Regions from separate parts of the Homo sapiens genome. Here regions 1, 2 and 4 are each linked to region 3. The links are contacts of gene promoters, found by promoter capture Hi-C in blood cells and fetal thymus (Javierre and others, 2016). All regions are on one chromosome and are shown on one strand. Each heading gives the region's core, a stretch centred on a gene start or on the middle of the fragment in contact. The rest is flanking DNA. Distances are from core to core; before and after follow the strand shown. Region 1 overlaps GNAI3 (G protein subunit alpha i3). Region 2 overlaps GNAI3 (G protein subunit alpha i3). Region 3 holds the start of GSTM3 (glutathione S-transferase mu 3). Region 4 has its middle 7.1 kb from the start of AMIGO1.

Evidence for each region. Contacts are between HindIII fragments. The CHiCAGO score rates a contact against its expected background, and 5 or more counts as called.
Region 1: a fragment that was not itself captured here is called in contact with the fragment with the promoter of GSTM3 in region 3 in 1 of 17 cell types (erythroblasts); the score reaches 5.3 in erythroblasts.
Region 2: a fragment that was not itself captured here is called in contact with the fragment with the promoter of GSTM3 in region 3 in 1 of 17 cell types (erythroblasts); the score reaches 5.1 in erythroblasts.
Region 4: a fragment that was not itself captured here is called in contact with the fragment with the promoter of GSTM3 in region 3 in 1 of 17 cell types (M1 macrophages); the score reaches 5.1 in M1 macrophages.

Annotation. Positions count from the first base shown.
Region 1 is chr1:109,568,321-109,571,534 of GRCh38, reverse strand. The region is part of intron 1 of GNAI3 (G protein subunit alpha i3); the gene reads right to left. Among named protein-coding and RNA genes, the nearest start is that of GNAI3, 21 kb to the right of the region's middle. The HindIII fragment of the contact is 1,772 bases long and covers 598-2,369 here.
Region 2 is chr1:109,551,627-109,554,722 of GRCh38, reverse strand. All of the region lies in intron 1 of GNAI3 (G protein subunit alpha i3), which reads right to left. Among named protein-coding and RNA genes, the nearest start is that of GNAI3, 4.6 kb to the right of the region's middle. The HindIII fragment of the contact is 1,395 bases long and covers 1,074-2,468 here.
Region 3 is chr1:109,739,334-109,742,325 of GRCh38, reverse strand. GSTM3 (glutathione S-transferase mu 3) reads left to right here and starts at 1,288. Exons shown (of 9, transcript NM_000849.5): 1 at 1,288-1,373; 2 at 1,815-2,086; 3 at 2,418-2,493; 4 at 2,833-2,897. The coding sequence starts at 2,039. RefSeq lists a silencer at 1,849-2,078. The HindIII fragment of the contact is 14,932 bases long and covers 103-2,992 here.
Region 4 is chr1:109,501,114-109,504,084 of GRCh38, reverse strand. No RefSeq gene overlaps it. Among named protein-coding and RNA genes, the nearest start is that of AMIGO1, 7.1 kb to the left of the region's middle. The HindIII fragment of the contact is 1,161 bases long and covers 712-1,872 here.

The DNA of each region.
Region 1 (3,214 bases), core at 234-2,733, 170 kb after region 3:
TAATTTAATCCTCACAATAACCCTATGAGGTAGACATTATTACCCCCATTTTACAGATGAGATAAATGATGCAGACAGATGTCAAGTAACTTGCCTATAATTACACAGTTAGTAAGTGGCAGAACTGAAATTTGCATTCACAGTTTGGCTCCAAAGCTGGTGTATACTGTCTCTATACTAATGATTTCCAAATTTAGATCTCTAATCTTGGCTTCTAACCTTGGCTCCAGATTCATATATCTAAACCATCTACCTGATATTAGATTTCTAGTAGGTATTTAGATTTCACAAACCTAAAATGCTCAAAACTGAGATACTGATTCCCCAACTCACTCTCACCTCAAAACAAACCCTGCTCCTCCCTCAGTCTTCTCATTCCAGTAAATGGCACCAACATTCACCAGTTGCTCAAGCCAAAAATGTTAAATGACATGTGACTAACGTGCAGATAAGACAAGGATGCCAGTGCCAATCTGTATATTAAATATTAGTAAAGCTTAATTTTTTTAAATAAAGCAATATAAATAGTTAATATAATAGTTTTAACAGTTTGTTCCTGAACATTGGAAACCATAGGCCTAGATCACTGCAAAAGCTTCCTAAATAGTTCAGTGCTTCAGACCTTGCCTTTTCTAAAGCCAGTTTGCCAGTCAGTAGGTGGAATAAACTTTGTAAAATGTAAATTAGATCTTGTCACACGATCTTCAATTATACTCAAAATCCATGGGCATTATGGTGCAATATGCTCTGGCCCCTGCCTACCTCTTCACCCTCATCTCTTGTTACTCTCCACTTTGTCCTCACAGCTCTTGTCAGACCAGCATTCTTGCTTTTCCTCCAACATACCAAACCGGTTCTTACTGAGTTAGGTCCTGACTCTGTCTTTCCTGTCTTTGCGTTTACTGTTACCTGAAATAAGTTTTGCAAGATTTTCTTCCTCACAGGAACAGCCTTTTCTGACTAATCTATCTAAATAGCTCCCACCCCGTCACAGTCTCTCCCCTTATTCTGTGTTATATTTTTTCATAGCACTTACCACTTCTTCACATGACAGATTAGCTCATTTCTTATCTTCCCCACTAAAATATAAGCTCCATGAAGGCTTATTCATCCCTGCATTCCCAGGGCCTTAAACTGGTCATGACATAAATTATCTACTCAAATAAATATTACTAAACAATGAATAATATTTAGTAACCATGATTCTTTACTAAATATTTCTCAACTTTACTAACCAAAAGTTAATTAAAATCCAAATATAAAAATTCTAGACAACTACATTCTTACAGAATCAAAAGGTACATTTATATATGATCTTGTCTTATTACATAATCGATAATCAGGGGTAGTACTAAATAGTTAATACTCAAATAGCACATAGTGACTTTCTTAGGATGCTGTTATAAAAAGGTGAATCCTCTCATTCATATCTAAAAAATCCAATGATTCTACTCTGGGAAGAAAATACAAATGCATACCAGTTATATTTTAAATTGCTTAAAAGACAGAATTCCCAGATTATCCATAGTAACAAGAGCTACTAAATTAAGAAAAGTTGAGATTAATGAATTAATGTGTACCATTCTTTTATATATTGAAAACCACATTTCCATCATTCATGTGAGATTATCTTGAATGAAATAATAAATCCATTAATCTCAGAATCAATTTCTACCTATCTCATTAATCCTACCCTATGGATGCGCTGATTAAAAAAAAAAACAAAAAACCCTCTGTTGCCCTACCTCTCTCACATTTTTCCAAGGCTCCCTGAGAAAATGTCAGTTTGCCTTTCCCTTTATTATCACACTAATATCTTCTCCTGAGCTTCCAGTTCCATCTCAGGGGCACTATTTTTAAAACCATCAGTTTATCTAATAATTCTCCAAATTATTGAAACACTTTCTATAACCCTTTCTTATTAGGTCTGGGCTCTTCACTTTTACCTCAACTCTCTGTGCTCCATTGTTCTAGCAGTAAGCTCCCTTTTCATAACATCTCATTGTTGCGTTTTCCCCAAGCTGCTTCCTATGTTCCATCTCCCTACTCCACAACACATGTGGTGTTCAGAACTTCCTAATTTTATCTGCATCTTTTATCTATCTTTTTTCAAAAATGTATCACAAGTTTAAGGAGAGATTCAGTTGCCCATCTTCAATACACCAGGGAAGTAATAGTTGAAATACAAAGAATGGGAAGATGCAAAGGATACTGCAAAGACAGCAGCTATGGCTTCAAAAGGGAGGAACTGAAGAGGACTCTGTATGCAGAAGGGATGGAACTATGCAGGGGGTTAGGATACACAGGGGAGAAAAAGTTGGAAAGGTCCCAGAAACAGGAGGCAATAGGATCCGTTCAACACAGAAGCTTTATCCTTTAAAGGATATCCTATATAAGTAGGAGAAAAGGATGAGAGGTGAAGTCACGGAGATTTTTGAGAATAAAAGGAGGAAGGAAGCCATGTTAGTTTCATTCTCAATAAAAGAGGCAAGGCAATCTGCAGAGAATAAAGGGAGAGGATTAATTTAGAAAACTATCTGGGGACAGGGAATGGTTGGTTCACACCTATAATCCCATCACTCTGGGAGGCCAAGGCAGGAGGATCACTTGAGGCCATGAGTTCAAGACCAGCCTAGGCAACATAGGCAAACCTCATCTCTACCAAAAAAAAACAAACAACAAGAATAACACAAAAAATTAGCTGGGCCTGGTAGCACACACCTGTAATCCCAGCTACTTGGGAAAATCTCTTGAGCCCAGGAGTTCAAGGTTGCAGTGAGTTACAACTGTGCTACTGCACTCAAACCTGGGCACAGAGCAAGACCTTGTTCTGGCAAAAAGAAAAAGAAAATCATCTGTGTTTATCTACAGTTTGGATACATAATCATCAACACTGTTAGACCAAAAAAAAAATTCAACAATATGTACTCTAATGTAGAATCACTGTATTTACCTAAACATGGGGTTTTGTTTGTTTGTTTTTTGTTTTGAGACAGAGTCTTGCTCTGTCACCCAGGCTGGAGCGTAGTGGCGTAATCACAGCTCACTGTAGTCTCAATCTCCCAGGCTCAAGCAATCCTCCTCCCTCAGCCTCCTGAGTAGCTGGGAGTAGCTGGGACTACAGGGGCACACCACCATGCCTGGCTAATTTTTTTTTATTTTTAGTAGAGATGAAGTCTCACTATGTTGCCCAGGCTGGGCTCAAACTCCTGAG
Region 2 (3,096 bases), core at 522-3,021, 190 kb after region 3:
TAAATGGGACTCAACTAAACTAAAAAGCTTCTGAGCAACAAAAGAAATCAGCAGAGTACAGACAACCCAGAGTGGGAGAAAATCTTCACAATCTATACATCTGACAAAGGACTAATATCCAGAATCTACAAGGAAATCAAATCAGCACGAAAAAAACAATCCCATCAAAAAGTGGGCTAAGGACTTGAATAGACAATTCTCACAAGATATACAAATGGCCAGCAAACTTACGAAAACATGCTCAACATCACTAATTATCAGGAACTACAAATCAAAACTACAATGTGATACCACCTTACTCCTGCAATAATGGCCATAATAAAAAAAAAATAGATGTTGGTGTGGATGTGATGAAAAGGGAACACCTTCACGCTGTTGGTGGGAATGTAAACTAGTACAACCACTATGGGAAACAGTGTGTAGGTTCCTTAAAGAACTAAAAGTATATCTACCATTTGATGCACCAATCTCACTCCTGAGTATCTACCCTGAGGAAAGAAGCCATTATACAAAAAAGATACTTGCATACGCATGTTTATAGCAGCACAATTCACAATGGCAAAAATATGGAACCAGCCCAAATGCCCATCAATCAACGAGTGGATAAAGAAAATGTGATATACACACACACACACACACACACCCCTCTACACCCATGGAACACTACTCAGCCATAAAAAGGAATGAAATAATGGCATCTGCAGCAACCTGGATGGAACTGGAGACGATTACTCTAAGTGAAGTAACTCAGGAATGGAAAACCAAACATCGTACGTTCTCACTTGTAAGTGGATGCTAAGCTATGAGGATGCAAAGGCCTAAGAATGATACAACGGACTTTGGGGACTCGGGGGAAAGGGTGGGAAGGTGGTGAGGGATAAAGGACTATACATTGGGTACAGTGTAGACTGCTCAGGTGATGGGTGCACCAAAATCTCAGAAATTGCCACTAAACTTATTCACGTAACCAAACATAACCTGTTCCCCAAAAACCTATTGAAATGTTAAAAAAGTGACTAATGCATTTAAATAAAAGACACAAAGAATGATACATGCTTATAAAACACAAAGCTTTTTTTCCCCGAAACACAGATGCATCCTCACATGAAATGTAACTGGCCATGAACCTTATCCCAAGCAAATGGCAAACATAATAAAGGGTATAATCCCATAGGAGGATATAATGTAATGGCATGTTTACCAAAGGGCAGTCTTATTCTCAATAATAAGCATATTCAGCCAATAATATGCAGCAATTTAAATATAATTAACTGTATAATATAGAGTTTAAGTAAATTAGATGATTCCAGTTCTCTGCATGCAACTGGCTTTTTGCCATACTACCACCAGCAAATCCCAAAGAACAAAGTTTTTTTTTATGTTTTCTCAGAACCTGCTAAAGGAAACTATCAAGAAACAGAAATACAGAGAGCAGATAATTCAATAATTTACAAAACTAAGTATCTTCATTAGTACAGTGATGAGTAAAAAAAAAGGACTAACATTTAATTCCTTTCACCACAAAAGGATATTAAAATTCTTTGAAGATCTTTGAAAATAGTATATTAATATGAAAAATAATAAAACAGCTGTCTGAAAAACCTCTGAAAAAAGTAGCTAAAATGGTAATTCTCACGATCATCATCATCAATAGAAGTGACCACTTACTATTTTTTATTTGCTAGGCACTAATGTGAAGCATTTTACATGCATTATCTCATTTCATATTATGAAACATCATCTCTGCTTTACATATGTAAAAATTATTATTCTTATGGTTAAGTTACTTGCTCTGGGTCTCAGAGCTAATAAGTGGAGGTAGAACTTAAATTCAGTTTTGTGTGAATCCAAAAGCAGTGCTCTTATCCATTATACCAGTGCTTCCCAACCTTTGTCACATGATGGCACACATTAAAAATATTTGTAAGGCTCATTGGGGTGAGCTGAAAGAGCTTGGTGAAAAAAAATTTTCTTGCTTGCCCTGGGGTCAAAAAAAAACAAAAACAAAACCCGCACACACAAAATTTCTTATTATGAAATTATGGCATGAAAAAAATACAAAGTATTACAAATGATATTAAATATTAAATTGGTATAAATTTAGTATTTATACCAAATAAAATTTTTTCAAATTACCAAATTCATGGTAGGGTAGGCACAGTGGCTCACACTGGTAATCCCAGCACTTTGGGAGGCTGAGATGGGAGAATCACATGAGGCCAAGCATTTGAGACCAGCCTGGGCAACATAATGAGACCCCCATCTCTAATTGTTTAAATAGTAAATAACCAAATTACCAAATTCATGAATTATACAAGAGGAAATCATACCAAAGATGTTCAAATGTAATTTCAACTGTTGTAAAAGTTTGAACTTATAAAAATGATTTAAAATTTCAATGCTATAAAAAATTTGTAAACAGCACACCTATATGCCATCCTAAGCACTGGAACATTGGTTGGGAAGCTTTGCATGGTATTTTTTCAATAGAATGTCATAATTAAACACTAATTTGATATACCAAGATCTTCCCAAGAACACTTTATTTTTTTTTTTTTTGAGACAAAGAGTCTCACTTTGTCACCCAGGCTAGAGTGCAGTGGCGTCATCTCTGCTCACTGCAACCTCCACCTCCCGGGTTCAAGCGATTCTCCTGCCTCAGCCTCCCAAGTAGCTGGGACTACAGGTGCACACCACCACGCCCGGCTAATTTTTGTACTTTTAGTAGAGATGGGGTTTCGCCATGTTGGCCAGGCTGGTCTCGAACTCCTGACCTCAGGTGATCCACCAGCCTCGGCCTCCCAAAGTGATGGGATTACAGCCAGGAGCCACCACGCCCAGCCCTTTCCAAGAACATCTAAATGAAATTCAAACCAAAGGTTATCAAAGGAAGAATTACAATACTGAAGTGTCTGTAAATAATCTGGCCCACACTAGCTGCTTAATTTGGTATAATTTCCATAATACCTACAATCTGTAACATTCATTTTGACTTAATAAGAATAGCTAATCTTCATGGAGCTAGTACTATGTGCCAAGCTGTGTTCTGCTTTACATTATTACCATATTTAATCCTCACAGCAATCCTAGGAGTAG
Region 3 (2,992 bases), core at 39-2,538:
CACTCCTCCACATTCAACTAGAATCCTATGTCTCCCGAGTTGACCCTGTTGCAAATCTGTGCCCCTTTTCATTTGCATGGGCCCTGCCGAAATTCAGAAGCTTAGTTCTTCCCATGACTATAGGGGCCTCGGGCAGGTCTCTTGCTCTGTCAAGGTCAAAACCCCTACTTTCCTAAATTCAACCATTGATTCTCCATCTTCATCTTACTTGATCAGCCACACTTGACATAGTTGATCACTTCTCCCTTTAAACATCTTCACATGGCTTCTGGGACCTTTTGTTTTCCTCCTACCTCCCTGGCCACTCCTTTTCAGACTCCTTTGCTGGTTTGCTCTCATTTTTCCCTAACCTTTACATGTTGATATGCCAGAGCACCTCAAACCCTTAGACCTCATCTCTGCTACTCGTGCTCCCATGGTGATCTCATCTAGTCTCTGGTTTCAAACACAGAGTGATCACTCCTGTACTTGCTGTTTCCCTTTTCCTGGAGTTCTCTCTGCCTCCTGCAGGTAGGAAGTGATTCGAGATAAGAGAGGGAGAGAACTCTTCTGGCCAGGATAGAGGGTGATTCTGAGAAGGCTTCAAGGAAGAAGTGAGCATTTGAGCACGGCTACTTGAGGAAGGCTAGGCCATGGACATTAGGGTGCAGGCAGGAGCAGAGCAAACATGCTTGTAAAAGGAACAGCAATTATTCTGTTTTATATTTATATCAGCCCATGGTGGCCCCCACAGCAGAGTGGCTTGATCTCTCACCTCCTTCAGGTCTTTGTTTAAAGATTAACTTCTCCATGAGGCCTTCTATGAACATAACCTTTAAAAACATAAATCCCCTTCCTACTGGGACTCCCCCAGTTCCCACCCTGAGACCCCCTATCTCTCTTCTCGATTTTATTTCTCTCCATAGGATGTGTATCACCACCTGACTTACTAGCTATTTACTATATATTAGTTTATTTCTTCCCCATTAGAATGTAAACTTCCTGAGGGCAGGGATTTTGTCTGTTGAGTTCAGTTCTGTATCCCCAGCACCTAAAACAGTGCCTGTCCATAACAGGCATGTTAAACATTGTTGGACAGATGAATGAGTGAATGAAAAATGGTAGTACCTTTCCTCCTCCAGTCCATCCTACACAAAGAGGCAAGATTAATTTCCCTAAATGCGTGAGCATTAGGAAGTGGGAGGGATTGGAGGAGGAAATTATAATAAGGAATCCATAAATTACTTAAGCCCATAAAACAAAGGTAGGAAACATTCAAGATAAGAGACCTCTTCTGGCCAGGATAGAGGTTGGTTCTGAGAAGGCTTCAAGGAATAGGCAGACATTTCAGCAAGGCTGCTGAGGAAGGATAGGCTGTGGAAATTAGGATGCAGGTAGGAGGATCACAGAGCAAACACTCCAAGGTGGGAAATGCAAGTGTGTGTAGAAGGAACAGCAAGTATTGTTGGGTTGGGCTGGCTTATGAAGTTGTGACGGGCTGAGGGAGAGACAGGACTGGAAAAGCACGTTGGGGTCAGGTTGCAGAGGTCCTTGACTGACAGAGAGGGGAGCTTGGTCTGTGGGGAATCTTCTGCTCTGTGTGGTCAGAGGCTGGTCTGACTCTCCGGCCTTGCCCCAGTCTTCCTATCCTTCATCCAGCCCCGGCTGGCTCGGTAAAAACGGCGCGAATCTCGCTCTCCCTGGGTAACTAGGGTCCCCACTGCCTGGCTAGTGGTGCTTTTCGCGTCTTCACTGGCACCATTAATGAATGAAGTCTGGCTCCCACCCGCGGGGAAGGGAGGAGCCTCAACCTCGGGTCCTTTGCTCTCCTGCAGCACTCCTGCCCGGGTCCCGCCTCGGGGTCGCCAGGCCCTGAACCCCAACGCCGGCATTAGTCGCGCCTGCGCACGGCCCTGTGGAGCCGCGGAGGCAAGGGACGGAGAACGGGGCGGAGGCGGAGTCAGGGCGCCCGCGCGTGGGCCCCGCCCCCTTATGTCGGGTATAAAGCCCCTCCCGCTCACAGTTTCCCTAGTCCTCGAAGGCTCGGAAGCCCGTCACCATGTCGTGCGAGTCGTCTATGGTTCTCGGGTACTGGGATATTCGTGGGGTGAGTGCCGTCTCAACGGTAGAGCCGCTCGGTCAAAGAGACTGACGCGGAGAGGGCGGGTCTCTGGGTCCGCGATCTCCAGCAGGAGCAGCTCTACGCGGGAGCCTTTTCGAGCTGCCGAGCCACGGATGTCGACCCCTGCCCAGCCTCTGGGATCGCGGGCCCTGTGGGGAGGGGCGGAGGAGACCACGCCGGAGCCGGGCCTAGGGGCCGCTTAACCACCGCCCCGGCAGGACGCAGGGACTCGGCAGCCCCGGGCCGGGGAACGTTAGCGGGCGGGGGTTGGGAATGGGTGGGAGCTGCGCAGTCGCTGAACCGCTGTCTTCCCCAGCTGGCGCACGCCATCCGCCTGCTCCTGGAGTTCACGGATACCTCTTATGAGGAGAAACGGTACACGTGCGGGGAAGGTAATGCCGCTCCGCGTGCCCGTGCAGCCAAGCTGGCCCTCCACCTGCCCTGGTCTTCTTACGCCCAGAGGGTGGTGGCGTCGCGCCAAGGCCGGGTGGGACGTTTGCCCCAATCTGGGTGAATAGAGACACATCCTTTATCTGGAACTGGGGGTTCTCTTTTTAACATAGCCCAAACCCGTCTTAATGCTTAACCAAATAGGGCTCAGAGGCTCAATGGTTATGCTTTTGGGGCCTGGGAATTTGAGGTATTGGGACCAAGTCATTTCTTTAGATCTTTTGCTCTTGTCAGGTGGGGTATTAAGGAGGTTGGGTCCCACTTAATTCCGTCTCTTACAGCTCCTGACTATGATCGAAGCCAATGGCTGGATGTGAAATTCAAGCTAGACCTGGACTTTCCTAATGTAAGTGGCTTTAGTAGAGGTGGCGGGCAGAAGGGAAAGCCTTCAAGTATATCCATCCTTGCCTCTCTCCTGCCTGGTACAGAAGGATGCAAAAT
Region 4 (2,971 bases), core at 43-2,542, 240 kb after region 3:
TTGTACGGACATGGGTGAAATACACATCTAGGCATTAAGATGGACCGGGGTCAGCAAACATTTTCCCTAACGAGCCAGATAGTAAATATTTTAGGCTCTGCAGACCACACAGTCTCTGTTACAACTCAGCTGTGCTGCTATAGCTTGAGTGTAGCCACAGACAGGACAAAAATGAATGACTGTGGCTGTGGTCCAAAAAAGATTTGACTTATGGACATTGAAATTTGAATTTCATATTTTAACATGCCTTTTGAGTTTTTCCAAGCATTAAAAAATATATAAACTAGGCCGGGCGCGGTGGCTCACGCCTGTAATCCCAGCACTTTGGGAGGCCGAGACAGGTGGATCACAAGGTCAGGAGATCGAGACCATCTTGGCTAACACGGTGAAACCCCGTCTCCACTAAAAATACAAAAAATTAGCCGGGTGTGGTGGTGGGCGCCTGTAGTCCCAGCTACGCAGGAGGCTGAGGCAGGAGAATGGGGTGAACCCGGGAGGTGGAGCTTGCAGTTAGCCAAGATAGCGCCACTGCACTCCAGCCTGGGCAACAGAGCAAGACTCCATCTCAAAAAAAAAAAATGTTATATATATATATATATATATATATAAACTACTATTAGCTCACAGGCCACATAAAACCAGGCAGTGGGCTGGTTTGACCAACAGACCATACTTTGCTGACCCCTAAGATTCTCAAATGTCACTGAAGCTTTAGAGTTTAGAAATCCCATGACTTGGCGCTCGCTGAGGCTTGTAGATAATGAAGTCTTCCTGGATCCCTAGGGCAGAGGGTTGCCTCCCTGCCGAGTTCTCTTAAAAGTCTGGATCAAGCCTACTGACCATACCATGGAAAAAATGCTTGGATTGGGTTTTAAAAAATGGTGGGCAGCAGCTCACTTTCACAGAATTTTATTATCAGTATTTTCATGTTGTAAATGGTAGCCATCTTAGGCTAAAAGTATATTCACCTAATGGGCAGGTTAATCTTCCTTGACAGTTTAGTGTGTCCTAGGCATTGCGTGGAACAGAAAAATGCAGTCCCTACGTTTTGGTACAGATTCAGCCTACCAGAAATTGGACTGGACTCTAAAACTCTAACCATGCTGATTCTTTGGCTCCTCTCTTGGTGATTCTAGAAGGGGGCTGTCGTGGCAGATTCCAAAGAGGGAGAGGAAATGATACCAGGAAAAAAATTAAAAGAATGCGAATTTGAATACTTACCTAAAGTCTTGACCGAAGGGCAGCCCTCCTCTATTTGGAAAGTTGTTTTTCACTTCAGGAGGAACAACCAAGGTGACGAGGGGTGGAGCTACTGCACAACCAGCCACATCAGACAAGTCAACCTTGGCAGTCAGTGAAATGACAGCTGTTGATGTCAGAGCACTCCCATACTCTGCATTTATATAGTTTTTCATCTGCAAAGCAGTTTTTCTATGGCTGACAATTTGGCTGACAGGATGAAGCTGATAAGGAGAGCAAGTCTGATGAGGACTACTTGGAGTTTGGAGTTCTCTCTTCTGTTTTGGCCTGTGCCAAGCCCAAGGAAGTCCATGGCTGCATCTCTTCAACACCCCCCACCCACCCACCACCCACATCCTCACCACCTCCCCCAAACCACAAGAAGTTCCTTAGATTCTGGCCAAGATGTGCAATTTTGTCTGCCATGCCTTGCAGCACTTACCCTGGCTCCTCTTAGGTAGCACTTGCGGGGAGGGAGGAGGCTAATATGACAGTTTTCTTTGAGAATAGGTAAGAGTTCAGTGCATTGGTTAACCTGGCCTCTCTTCCCCCCAGTCTCTCAACTCCTTCCCTTTCTGCATGCACTTCTTGCACCACTTATCTTGTATCTCCCAGGAAACCAGTGGGGAAGCTTCACTTTCTCCACCCACATAGCAGAAAAGGCTCAGGCCCCTGCAGTGGGACGGTTGGCTTTTCTGGTCTAGTCACAGTCAGCCTGTGCTGAATGCTTCCTCTCCTGGGGCTTGAGAGAGGAAGGCTAAAGCAGCTGCCAGTCAAGCCCCTTCATCAGGCTTCTACACTCTTAGGTGGAAAATGCAAAATGGTGAAGACACTTAGACCTGCCCTGACGCCTCCAATCTAGTCAGCTTGTTTACTCTCCCTGGTTGGAACCATGGCCTGAGAGAACCAACCTGCAGTGAGCCAGGACGTGGAGCCCTGCAGTGGGACTTCTGGATGCCCTTTGGCACTGGCATACATTAGGCAGGAGTCATTGCCTCCAAGGCTGGTGTATGCGTGCATGTGCGCACACATACAGGTTGGCAAGTACTGGAGTTGGATTGTACTTTGTGCTGCATTTCCCTTACCTCCCACTGCTCCCTCACTTGGTCATAGTTTGCTTTTGGGGGGCCTGAGCAGAACTGAGCATCCTTAGAAAGCACCATGAGATAACTGGGTATCTGCTTTAAAGATAGGGGTGCTAGGGGGCCACTCATGTATACTCAGTGAGACAGAGTTGGCTCCTCAGATGCCACTGAATAGCCTGAAGTCGTTCCTTAATCTGCTTCCAACAGAGGTTAAAAACTCATCTGGGAAATCCTAGCAATAGCAGGATTATAAACTGAGATTGTTATTCTGTGATGCATCTGGTGACTAGCTGAGTCTCCTGAGTGGGTGGGTAGGGGGAAGGTCCCCTCACTGGAGGTAATTTCTGCCTACATGAAGGGGTTAAGCCCAGCGCCATGCTGGAGACGGGCTACTTCAAACCACCCTCCAGGGCAGTTCTGCCTTTCAGCTTGTCGTCTTTGTGCAGTGCTGGTGAGAACTGCTGAGGCTCTGCACACAATGCCTGACTAGTGTTTCATTCCTGGATCCCAGGACAGAAAAAGCAATTAAGATAAAAAACGAATATTCAAGCCTCTGCACTGCTGTTTTGCTGTTCCTGCTTCTTTGCATCCACTCCAGGCAGACTGCTGCTGCTCTCAGACAAATGGAATGGAAAGTATTCTTCCCC